3 separate regions of the Homo sapiens genome follow, and regions 2 and 3 are each linked to region 1. The links are contacts of gene promoters, found by promoter capture Hi-C in blood cells and fetal thymus (Javierre and others, 2016). All regions are on one chromosome and are shown on one strand. Each heading gives the region's core, a stretch centred on a gene start or on the middle of the fragment in contact. The rest is flanking DNA. Distances are from core to core; before and after follow the strand shown. Region 1 holds the start of ZSCAN4 (zinc finger and SCAN domain containing 4). Region 2 overlaps LOC124904784 (a long non-coding RNA gene). Region 3 has its middle 26 kb from the start of ZSCAN18.

Evidence for each region. The method cuts DNA at HindIII sites, captures the fragments that hold promoters and counts their contacts. A CHiCAGO score of 5 or more calls a contact.
Region 2: a contact is called between a fragment that was not itself captured here and the fragment with the promoter of ZSCAN4 in region 1, in 2 of 17 cell types (total CD4 T cells and total CD8 T cells). The highest score is 6.2, in total CD4 T cells.
Region 3: a contact is called between a fragment that was not itself captured here and the fragment with the promoter of ZSCAN4 in region 1, in 1 of 17 cell types (activated CD4 T cells). The highest score is 5.1, in activated CD4 T cells.

Annotation. Positions count from the first base shown.
Region 1 is chr19:57,666,790-57,670,981 of GRCh38, forward strand. It overlaps ZSCAN4 (zinc finger and SCAN domain containing 4), which reads left to right and starts at 2,146. Exons shown (of 5, transcript NM_152677.4): 1 at 2,146-2,414; 2 at 3,456-3,778. The HindIII fragment of the contact is 4,258 bases long and covers 1-3,781 here.
Region 2 is chr19:58,166,088-58,170,279 of GRCh38, forward strand. The region is part of intron 1 of LOC124904784 (a long non-coding RNA gene); the gene reads left to right. Among named protein-coding and RNA genes, the nearest start is that of ZNF274, 15 kb to the right of the region's middle. The HindIII fragment of the contact is 1,581 bases long and covers 2,153-3,733 here.
Region 3 is chr19:58,121,650-58,125,841 of GRCh38, forward strand. No RefSeq gene overlaps it. Among named protein-coding and RNA genes, the nearest start is that of ZSCAN18, 26 kb to the left of the region's middle. The HindIII fragment of the contact is 5,091 bases long and covers 1-4,192 here.

The DNA of each region.
Region 1 (4,192 bases), core at 896-3,395:
GCAGTGAGCCAAGATCGTGCCACTGCACTCCAGCCTGGGCGACAGAGCAAGACTTTGTCTCGAAAAAAATAGAAAGTTAACAGTTTTGTTTATTTTCCTACCAGGTTTTTATTATTATTATTATTATTCTAATTGAAATCACTGTTTCCTACATACTGAGGCGGATTGGCTTTGTCTTCTTGGAAACAAAGGTTATTTTCCTCACTCACACTGGAGCGGGGATACTCACCAGACACAAGTTGAGATGATGCTGGATGTAAACGGGTCATCTATTTTTACCAAAGGCAGCACTACCTGCCTTCCCAATTGATCAGAAAAGCATTTGATAGTTGTCTTTGTAATATCCTTATTTGATTAAATTACTATGTGGATTTCACATTTATTTTTATTGTTTTGTGCCTGTTTATTCTATGCCTAAGTTGGGGTATCACCAGGTCATTTCCTCCACCATCTGTGTTTCCCCAAGGATAAATCCTCCTGCTCATGCCCTTCACTCCTCCATTAGCCCATTCCCTAGAAAGCTGCTGGTTTTACACAGTGGCTGTGTGTCTTTGCCTTCTTAATGTAGCATTCAGAGTCCCACTCTGGAGCCAGGTATCAAATCCTAGCCCAGCCACTTACAGGCTATGTAGCACTGGCCAAGGTACTGAACTTCTCTGTGCCTCTGTTATTTTGATGTTAAAATGGAGTTATTTAGGATCTACTTTACAGGACTGTTGTGATGGAAATGGGTTAACATACAGAAAGCACTGAGAACAGAGTCAAATATGCCCTGACTGCTTAAAGGTTAGTTATTATGATCCCTGATGCTATTACTACTCTTACTGATATCATCGTGCCTCAGGTCTAACTGCTCCCAGAGTTACACACCAGCATGTCCAACAGCTGGCTGTATATCTGAACTCAAAAATCCAATAACCTCCTCCAAACAGAAATTGCCAGCTTTTCCCCAAACCTTTTCCTTACAGCTCCTTACAGAGCTCAAGGAACTCCTTGAGACTGCAGAAGCAGACAGGAAATGCTTTCAACCCACCACAAATTAACAACTGGCCTCCAGTGGTACTCACATTGTCTACATTTTTCATTGTTTTTTTTTTGTTTGTTTTTTGTTTGTTTGTTTGTTTGTTTTTGAGACAGAGTCTCACTCTGTCGCCCAGGCTGGAGAGCAGTGGTGCGATCTTGGCTCACTGCAACCTCGGCCTCCCAGGTTCAAGTGATTCTCCTGCCTCAGGCTCCCGAGTACTTGGGATTACAGGTGCCTGCCACCATGCCTGGCTAATTTTTGTATTTTTTTAGTAGAGACGAGGTTTCATCATGTTGGCCAGGCTGGTCTCAAACTCCTGACCTCAGGTGATCCACCCGCCTCGGCCTCCCAAAGTGCTGGGATTACAGGCATGAGCCACTGCGCCCAGCCCATTTTTCATTGTTGTAGCAGAGAAGTATCCCTGCTTCCATCAAGAGCCAATTTTCCTGTCACAGTTGGTTTAATGACATAGTTGGTGACAGGACCTAAACCACCAGTGGAAAATTGGCTCTTGATGGGAGCAGGGATACTTCTCTGTATGGAGTATATGTGGATGAAACTCCTTGGAGAAATGGACTAGTACACAGTCTTATAATGTGAGGATTCAGAACATAATTCCTAATGTGGGGAAGTCAAGCAGACATTTCATCAGTGGAGTACCAGGAGATTCAAACTCTGTACCCAACAGTGATAGGGGGACAATCTAAGCCCCAAGAGGCTGCATGCCTGATGGAGCAGATGAAACACATGGCTGTAATTAGCTCCCACCCCTTCGATACGTTCTCAACTCCACCAAAGCCTCAGCCTGTATGAGGGTGGAAAGTGGGGAGGGAGAGTGCAGGGAAGAAGGCACAGCTTCCACCACACTAGGTGACCAGGCGCTTCTCACCATTTTAACTCCTCCATCTCTCTCAAGCCTCATGTTAAGTCTATCAAACATCATATGCTTTCTCAATATAAAATATGCACCAATTTCTCCCTTTCCACTGATATAATCCTAGTCTCAACCCCTGTCATCTTTTTGATGGATTAGGAATGCCTTCTCTGGGTCCCGGGCCCCCTCTGTTTCACCAGCCTGGAATTGGCACAGGAGTCACAGCATTAGCCTTGCCCTCTGCCACCCTTGTAATTCATAAATCTCTGAAAACTTAAAAGTTTGAGCAAAAGTTTGTCATGTTTCTATGAGTAATTTATAATAAAACTTGATCAGAATTTGTGAGACTAACGTTTGTCTTTATATTTTCCTTTTTTTTTTTTTTTTTTTTGAGACACAGTCTCGCTCTGTCGTCCAGGCTGGAGTGCCGTGGCGTAATCTCGGCTCACTGCAACCTCTGCCTCCTGGATTCAAACAATTCTTCTGCCTCAGCCTCCTGAGTAGCTGGGATTACAGGTGCATGCTACCACGCCCAGATAATTTTTGTATTTTTAATAGAAACCGGGTTTAACCATGTTGGTCAGGCTGGTCTCAAACTCCTGACCTCATGATCCACCTGCCTCGGCCTCCCAAAGTGCTGGGATTACAGGCGCGAGCCACCACACCCAGCCTGTCTTTATATTTTCATTTAATGTGGACCTTGTTACATTTTACCGCAGATTTTGTATTTTTGTGTGTGTTTGTTTGTTTGTTGGTTTTTGAGACAGTCTACCTCTGTCGCCCAGGCTGCAGTGCAGTGGCACAATTTCAGCTCACTGCAACCTCCGCCTCTGTGGTTCAAACAATTCTTCTGCTCAGCCTCCTGAATAGCTGGGACTACAGGCACGCGCCACTACGCCTGGCTAATTTTTGCATTTTTAGTAGAGATGGGGTTTCACCATATTGGCCAGGCTGGTCTCGAACTCTTGACCTCGTGATCCGCCCACCTCGGCCTCCAAAAGTGCTGGGATTACAGGCATGGTTTTTTTTTTGTTCGTTTTGTTTTGTTTTTTTTTTAGAGACTTGGTCTCCTTCCATTTCCCAGGCCAGAGTTCAGTAGGGCGGTCATAATCCACTGTAGCCATGAACTCCCTGGCTCAAACAAGCTACACAGACATGCCACCATGCCTGGCTAACATTTTTAACATTATTTTTGGTAGAGACAGGGTCTTGCTTTGTTGCTCAGGCTAGGGATTCACAGAGTCTTGCTCTGTCTCCCAGGCTGGAATGCAGTGGCGCAATCTTGGCTCACTCTAGCCTCTGCCTCCCAGGTTCAAGTAATTCTCCTGCCTCAGCCTCCCAAGTAGCTGGGATTACAGGTGCCCACCACCATGCCCGGCTAATTTTTGTATTTTTAGTAGAGAAAGGGTTTCACCATGTTGGCCAGGCTGGTCTTGAACTCCTGATCTCAGGTGATCTGCCTGCCTCAGCCTCCCAAAGTGCTGAGATTACAGGTGTGAGCCACTGCACCTAGCCTGCAGAAATATTAATGTGTTTGTTTATGACCTGTTGACCCAGGACCAGTGATGGTATAGAACACTGTATTAGAGACATGGAGCTGGGGCTGGATGAAGATTCCATCAGTAATTCAATCAACAGACAAGTGTTATCCAATCACGTCTTTAAATCAATCACTGACATGGAGCTGGGGCTGGATGAAGATTCCATCAGTAATTCAATCAACAGACAAGTGTTATCCAATCACGTCTTTAAATCAATCACTGATCCCAGCCCCTATAAAAGGGAGCAGCCTTAGGAGGCACATCAGATAAACCCAGTGTGGAAAGCTAGTCACACATCAGCTCAGTGTTCGGCCCGGGATTACCCAGTCAACCAAGGAGGTAAGCTTCCATAATGGAAGGAAAATTTTGTGCCTTTGAGTGTGTATACATTTTGTGTCTTTGAGTGTGTATACATAATTTTGTGTCTTTGAGTGTGTATACATGTGTATGTAGGCATAGCTATTTCAGGAAAATTCCTAACTACAGAGATATGGGGGTCTCCCAGGTGTAGGGAATGGTCTTTTGTTACAACAGCTCTGACCCAAAAGGGCTTGATGTTGTGAACTCTGTATAAAGGCCTGGTGTGACTGAAGATTTTTCTTCAAAAAGTCTATCGTATGACTTTATGTTCTAGTAATTCTTTTTTTTTTTTCGAGACAAGATCTCTATCACCCAGGCTAAAGTTTAGTAGCCCCAATCACAGCTCACTGCAGCTTCAGCCTCCCCAGGCTCAAGTGATCCTTCCACCTTAGC
Region 2 (4,192 bases), core at 1,693-4,192, 500 kb after region 1:
AACCCCTGAAAATTATGATTTTGGGAATGCTTTTGGTCAAAACACTCAACTTCTTAGACTTGCAAACAGTTCAGTGTAGAAAAGCCTTATATATGAAATATACGTAGTAAATTTTTTAAGTGTAGCACAAGTCTCAGTCAATGTAAGCGAATTCATGTTAGAGAGAGTTGAGTTGAATGTAAGGAATGTGGAAAAGTGTATTCAGAGCTCCTCTCATCTTTGTTTTGAGAGCACTCACACAGTTGACAAACCCTCCAGATGTTCTGAATGTGAGAAATCCCTGTTTATGGTAAATACTTTCTGACATCAGAGAAGTCATACTGGAGAGAGACCATATAAATGTAGTATGTGTAAAGAAGTCTTTAAACAGAGCTCAACCCCACTGATGTATGAGCAAACTCTCTCAGGAAATAGACCTTACAAATGTGTTGAGTGTTGGAGAGTCTTTATTAAGAAATATTTCTTTCAGTATGTTTCAGAACTTATACAGGAGAACAATACTATAAATGTAATCGCTGTAGCAAAGGCTGTAGACACAAATTATACCTTATTCAATATGAGACAATTTATACTTGTGGGAAATTATATATTTGCAGTGAATTTAGGAAATTCTTCTAAAGAAGTGAACACTTTTACCCTATAGCTAAGAATCTATAGAGACACCTTATGAAGGGAATCATTCAGGGAAAGGTTTTACACTTTGCTCCTCCACTACTCAAAAATCACAGAAGACACACTGGAGAGCAAAGTGATGGATACAGTCATCGTGGGAAAGGCTTCAGACGTAGCCTAGCCCTTATGATGTGACATCAGAGGACTCATACTGAGGAAAACCCCATACATGTAATTTGCGTGGAAGAGCATTCAGGAGTTGTTCTCATATTATTGAACGTAAGAGGACTCATACTGGAGAACACTATGAATGCAGTCAGTATTGGCAAGCTTTCAACCATGGCTTTTACCTTATTTGACACCAGGAAATTCAAACAAATTAGAAAAACTCATTGAAAAAAGATCAATGTGGAAAAGCTATTGGTTGGAATTCCATTTTATTTGACATCAGGGATAAAGGAGGCAAAAGCCACCAGTTATTTTTTAACTCTTAAGTATCTGAATGTAACAAGACTGCAAACTTGTGACTCCCTGCAGCCACAGATCAGCAGGGATAAGCAGTTCTATTCTACATATGTCCCTAATTTGCCATAGAAACACCATTTAATGGGGACTCAGGGTCTAGGCCTGATGAACAATGTCTCATAGAAATGTCTGGCCATATGCGGCTGGGCACAGTGGCTCACGCCTGTAATCCCAGCACTTTGGGAGTCCGAGGCGGGTGGATCACGAGGTCAGGAGATCAAGACCATCCTGGCTAGCACCGTGAAACCCCGTCTCTACTAAAAATACAAAAAAAAAAAATTAGCTGGGTGTGGTGGTGGGCGCCTGGAGTCCCAGCTACTCAGGAGGCTGAGGCAGGAGAATGGTGTGAACCCAGGAGGCAGAGCTTGCTGTAAGCCGAGATCGTGCCACTGCACTCCAGCCTGGGTGACAGAGCAAGACTCCGTCTCAAAAAAAACAAGAAAAAAAGAAAAAGAAAAAGAAATGTCTCCCATATGCCTGTAATCCCAGCTACACAGGAGGCTGAGGCAGGAGAATAGCTGAACCCAGGAGGTGGAGGTTGCAGTGAACCAAGATCACACCACTGCCCTCCAGCCCGGGCAACAGAGCAAAACTCCATCTCAAAAAAAAAAAAAAAAATGGTTGCCATAGATAATCATGGCTGGGCACAGAGGCTCACACCTGTAATCCCAGCACTTTTGGAGGGCAAGGCAGGTGGATCACTTGAGCTCAGGAGTCCAAGACCAGCCTGTGCAACATGGAGAAACCCCGTCTCTAATAAAAATACAAAAATTAGCTGTGCGTGGTGGTGCATTCCTGTAGTCCCAGCTACTTGGGAAGTGAGGACTGCTTGAGGGGGTCAAGGCTACAGTGAGCTGAGATGGTACCACTGCACTCCAGCCTGGGTGACTAAACGAGACCCTGTCTAAAAGAAAAGAAAAGAAGAGAAATGGTTGTCATAGGTAATCACATGTAAATTTTTTTTTTTTTAAAGAGTGAGCAACAGTAAGATTTATTGCAAAGAGCGAAAGAACAAAGCTTCCACAGTGTGGAAGGGGACCCAAGCGGGTTGCCCATAAATGTTATCAGTGGCAACAGCGTATCTGTTTTTCTACATCACGTATGAATAAAAGAACCGTCAACCTTGAAGAATGGTGCAGGAATCATATGGCAACAGCGTATCTATTTTTCTACATCACGTATGAATAAAAGAACCGTCAACCTTGAAGAATGGTGCAGGAATCATACACCTTTTAGCATCATGGGGATCCTTATGTGTATAATTTTATGATAGTCCTAGATGAGGGCTGAAGGATATGCTATCAATTTTTTTCTGCATAATCCAAATATTATCACTCCAAACAAATCAGAGAGCTTTATACTAACTTGCTAATACTTTGCCAATAGCATTCTTCTATCTACTTGAATAGAAGCATCATAAAGAGTTGTATGTTGGCCAGGCACGGTGACTCACACCTGTAATCCCAGCATTTTGGGAGGCCGAGGCAGGAGGATCACCTGAGGTCAGGAGTTTGAGACAAGCCTGGCCAACATGGTGAAACCCTGTCTCTAGTAAAAATAGAAAAATTAGCTGAGTGTGGTGGCACATGCCTGTAATCCCAGCTACTTGGGAGGCTAAGGCAGGAGAATCAGTTGATCCCGGGAGGTAGAGGTTGCAGTGAGCCAAGGTTGTGCCATTGCACTCCAGCCTGGGTGACAAGAGCAAAACTCCATCTCAAAAAAATAAAAAAAATGAGTTGTACGTATCTTCACATTTCTAAGGGCATGTCCAATGTCTTGGCAGGGTTAAAAAGACATCATAGTCTGGTGAAGTACCCATACTCCAAAACTAGTGCAAACTTCACAAGTTTCATTGCAAATCCCTTACAAAGAGCACAGGGTATGTATAAGCAGCATTGGTTTCTCTTCTGAAACCCTGGACACTAGAAGATAAGTGAAGATTCCAGAAACACAAAGACTCTGATTTCAGGATTTGATGCTCAGCAAATATATCATTCACACATATGAGGAGAGAGTAAGCATTTTCAGACCTGTTAGCATTCAAAATTTGTATTCTTTCTGGAAAAACTGCCCAAGAGAACATAATAGTAATTTCTTACAATGGAAGTATGAGCCATGTCCCCAAAAGACATCTAAAAGGACACTCATAGAAGCATTAGTCATAAGGGGCCAAAACTGGATACAGCCCAGCAGTCCATCAATAATAAAATGTATAAACAAAATGTGGTACATCCATAGTGGAATACTACTCAGCAATTTACCAAACATTAACTACTGATACATGCAGCAACTTGGATGAATCTCTAACACATTATGTTGACACAGAAAACCATAGACTATATGATTCCATTTATATGAAGTTTGAGGACAGAAAAAAAACTTATGATGATAATCAGGATAGTGGTTAACTCTGGGAGATATTAACCAGGAAGTGGTACAGGGTTTTGGAAATATATTTTCTGTTGACCTGTGTGATGGATTTTTATATATGGACATTATATATTTATATATTTAGACATATATAAAAAAACTCATCAAGTTGTGAAGTTGAGGACTTTATGCCTATATATATGTTTATGTGTATATATATGTTTAAAGCTTATATAGTTTATGTATATAAAGGTTACATATAAACTTTAATTTAATTAATTAATTTTTTGAGACAACAGTCTCACTCTGTTGCCCAGGCTGGAGTGCAGTTGTGTGATCTCTGCTCACTCCAGCCTCTGCCTCCTGGGTTTAAGTGATTCTCCTGCCTCAACCACCTGAGGAGCTGGGATTACAAGCAAGCACCACCACACCTGGCTAGTTTTTGTATTTTTAGTAGAGACAGAGTTTCACCATGTTGGCCAGGCTAGTCTTGAACTCCTGATCTCAAGTGATCCTAATGCCTTGACCTCCCAAAGTACTGGGATTACAGGTGTGAGCCACCGTGACTGGACTAAACTTTAATTTTAAAAGTTTTAAAACGGCCGGGCGTGGTGACTCGTGCTTGTAATCTCAGCACTTTGGGAGGCCGAGGTGGGCGGATCACGAAGTCAGGAGATCAAGACCA
Region 3 (4,192 bases), core at 1,204-3,703, 460 kb after region 1:
TCCCACCTCAGCCTCCCAAAGTCCTGGGATTACAAGTGTGAGCCATAGTGCCCAGCCTAAGAAAATTTTTTCAATAAAGATCAAGAGGAATACAATTCACACAAAACCATGGGGCTCATACCAATATCATAGTTGACACCACTTCTTCAGAATGCTTACTCTCTGGCCACAACTGGTCAGGGGATGAGTCCATCCCAGAATCTGAAAGGTAGAACCAAGAGGTAGAGATGCTGCTGACACTAACTGCAACACCTGCATATTTTACTTGAGAGCTGCAGACACCAAAGTGAAGTGCCCAGCCTGGGCATTCCTGACAGTCCACTAGGGATTTGTGTCTTATGATACACACATTTCTACAGAGACATAAATCTGTAACTTATAACTGTACACATCCTGGGAATGTAAGACTTTTCCCCAATAATGGGGTTCATTCTTTTGAAAGTATGAACAAGAAATGTATACACTTAAGCCTTGGCACAGCTCACACCTGGGCTGGATAACTCTGCTGTGGGGGCCATTATGAGCCTTGAAGGATGTTTAGCAGCAGCCCCAGCCTCCACCTGCCAGATGCCACCCTTCATCATGACCACCCAGATGTCTCCATATGTCCCCTGGGGGCAAAATTGCCCCTGGATGAGAACCACTGCTCACAGTGAATAGATCCACATGTTCAAGTGCGCCCACACCATGGAATATTACACAGCACTGAGGAGAAACCACAGCTGCCTGCAGCAACATGGATGAGTCTAACCTACACAATGTTGTGCAACAGGCAGACATCTAATTCCATTCATACAAACACATGGTGAGGCAGGCTTTATTCCAGAAGCTACTACAGAGGGGCTTGGGAGGCCAGACTCAACTCCAGCTTGGACAAGAACAAGTGAGGGCTTAAAGCCGAGAAGCAGCAGGGTGTCTGGAGGATGAAAAATTACTAAGTGCAAACCTCAGAGATAAGGGGTGAATTCTTGCCAGACCAACTCAAGAGAAGTTTTCCTAAAGGCAGGCCCAGGGAAGAAGACATTGAAGGTGGGGGACAAGGAATTTGATCAGATATCAAAGTGGAGTGGGGAGTGCTACACACTTTTAAACAACCAGGTCTCATGAAAACTCACTCACTATCATGAAAACAGCAAAAGGGGAAATCCACCCCCATGATACAATCACCTCCCACCAGGTCTGTCCCCCAACACTGGGAATTACAATTTGACATGAGATTTTGGCAGAAACACAGAGCTAACCCATATCATTCTATCCCTGTCCCACCCCTAAATCTCATATTCTTCTCATACTGCAAAATGCAATCATGCCTTCCCAACAGTCCCCCAAAGTCTTAACTCATTCCAGCATTAACTCAAAAGTGCAAGTCCAAAGACTCATCTGAGACAAGGCAAGTCCCTTTCACCTATGAGCCCATAAAATCAAAAGCAAGTGAGTTACTTCCAAGGTACAATGGAGGGTACAGGCATTGGGTAAATTCCCCTATTCCAAAAGGGAGAACTTGGTCAAAACAAAGGGGCTACAGGTCCCATGCAAGTCTGAATACCAGCAGGGCAGTCATTAAATGTTTAAGCTCCAAAATAATCTTCTTTGACTCCATTTCTCACATCCAGGTCACACTGATGCAAGGGCTGGGCTCCCAAGGCCTTGGGCACTCCACTCCTGTGGCAATGCAGGGTACAGCCCCTGTGGCTGCTTTCACAGGCTGGTATTGAGTGCTTGTGGCTTTTCCAGGCACACGGTGCAAGCTAACGGTGGACCTACCATTCTGGACTCTGGAGGATGATGACCCTCTTCTCACAGCTCCACTAGGCAGTGCCTGAGTGGGGACTCTGTGTGGGGGTTCCAACCCCACATTTCCCCCATCCCCCTGCCTTAGCAGAGGTTCTCCACGAGGGCTCCACCCATGCAGCAGACTTCTGCCTGGACGTCCAGGTGTTCCCATACATCCTCTGAAATCTAGGCAGAGGCTCCCAAACTTCAACTCTCGCCTTCTGTGCACCCACAGGTCCAATACCACATGTAAGCTGCCAAGGCTTGGGACTTGCACCCTCTGAAGCAATAGACCAAGCTGTACATTGGCCTCCTTTAGCCACAGTTAGAACTGACGCAGCTGGGATGCAGGATGCCAAGTCTTGAGGATGCACAGAGCACTGGGGCCCTGGACCCTGGCCCACAAAACCATTTTTCTCTCCTAGGCCTCCAGGCTTGTGATGGGAGGGGCGGCTGAGAAGGTCTCTGAAATGCCCTGCAGGCATTTTGCTCATTATCTTGCCTATTAACTTTCAGCTCTTCTTTACTTATGTACATTTCTGCAGCCTTTGATTCCTGCCAGAAAATGGGCAGCAAATTTTCAAAACTTTCATGCTTTGCTTCCAGTTTAAATGTAAGTTATAGTTTTAGGTCATTTCTTTGATTATGCAATTGAGTGCAGACTTTAAGAAGCAGCCAGGCGACCTCTCCAACACTGCTGCTTAGAAATTTATTCTGCCAGATACTCTAAATAATCTTTCTCAAGCTCAAGTTGTGTCTGTCACAGATCTCTAGAGCAGGAGCACAATGCTGCCAGTCTTTTTGCTAAAGCACAGCGAGAGTGACCTTTATTCCAGTTACCAGTAAGTTCCTCATCTCTATCTGAGACCACCACAGCCCAGACTTCACTGTCCATATTATTAGCATTTTGGTCACAACCATTTAAGTCTCTAGGAAGTTCCACACTTTCCCTCAACTTCCTGTCTTCTTCGGATCCCTTCAAACTGTTCCAACATCTGCACATTACCCAGTTCCAAAGTAGCTTCAGGAATCTTTATAGCAGTGCCCCACTCCTGTTACCAACTTTCTATACTAGTCCATTCTCACACTGCTGTGAGGAACTACCTAAGATTCGGTAATTTATGAAGAAAAGAGGTTTAATTGACTTACGATTCCACAGGCTGTACATGAAGCATGGCTGGGAGGCCTCAGGAAACTTACAGTCATGGCAGAAGGTGAAGAAGTAAGCATGTCTTACCATGGCAGAGCAGGAAAGAGGGTGAATGAAGAAGGAAGTGCTACACACTTTTAAACAAGCAGGTCTCATGTGAACTATCATGAGAACAGCAAGGAGGAAATCTGCCCCCATGATCCATTCATCTCCCACCAGGTCCCTCCCCTAACAAGAGAATTACAATTTGACATGAGACTTGGGTGGGGACACAGAGCCAAACCATATCAGATTCTGTTTTGAGACAGGGTCTTGCCCCATTATCCAGCCCACAGTGCAGTGGTGTGATCACGGCTCACTGTAGCCTCAAACTCCCAGGCTTAAGAGATTCTTCTGCCTTCTTCCTGACTCTCCCTCCTGATAAGCTGGAACTAAAGGCACATGCCATCACACCTGGCTAATTTTTACATTACTATTTGCAGAGATGGGGGTCTTGCTATGTTGCCCAGGCTGGTCTTAAATGCCTAGGCTCAAGCAATCCTCCTGCCTCAGCCTCCTGAAGTGGTGAAATTACAGGTGTGAGCTACTATGCACATCCAAACATCTTGCTCAAACTGGATCCTATAGGGAAAGGGAGAAGCCCAAGGTCAGAGGGCTCAGGGGATCCTGATTTAAGTTGGGTCAAGGAGAGTCTGCAGTGCACTTTTCTGTATGTGAGCTATACTCAAACGCAACTCTCTGGAGAAGACAAGTCAGCCTGGTCCCCTTTCATCCATCACCACACCCTGGGACACAGCACCATCCCATCCTGACTCCAGAGGGTTCAACAAGGGTCCCCGCTAGTCCTCCATGCCCCTGCACCTCTCACCATGAGATCACCATATCCCAATGTGTGTGGGGGAGCTTTACTTCTCTAAATGCTCTTTCAGGGCCACTCTTCCCTTCTTCACTCCGTGCCTCCATTACCTATCTACTCATTCCTCTCTCAGGACTGGCTGCCCACCCTTCCCATGACACAGCTATCAGAGGCATACCAAGGTTGGCTGCCTCATGGGAGACAGCAAGTGCCATGGAGGCCACAGCTGATGCCAGACAAAAGAGAACACACACAGAGAAGGAGGCATGGCTGCTTGAAGCTCCCCACGAGCTGGCCTGAGGGTCCGGACCTCAGAATACCAGCACCATGGAGACACCAGGTCACACACACATGAACCTTGATCCAGCTAATACAATGGGCCTGGCTGACCCCAGTCCTGGACTGACTCATCA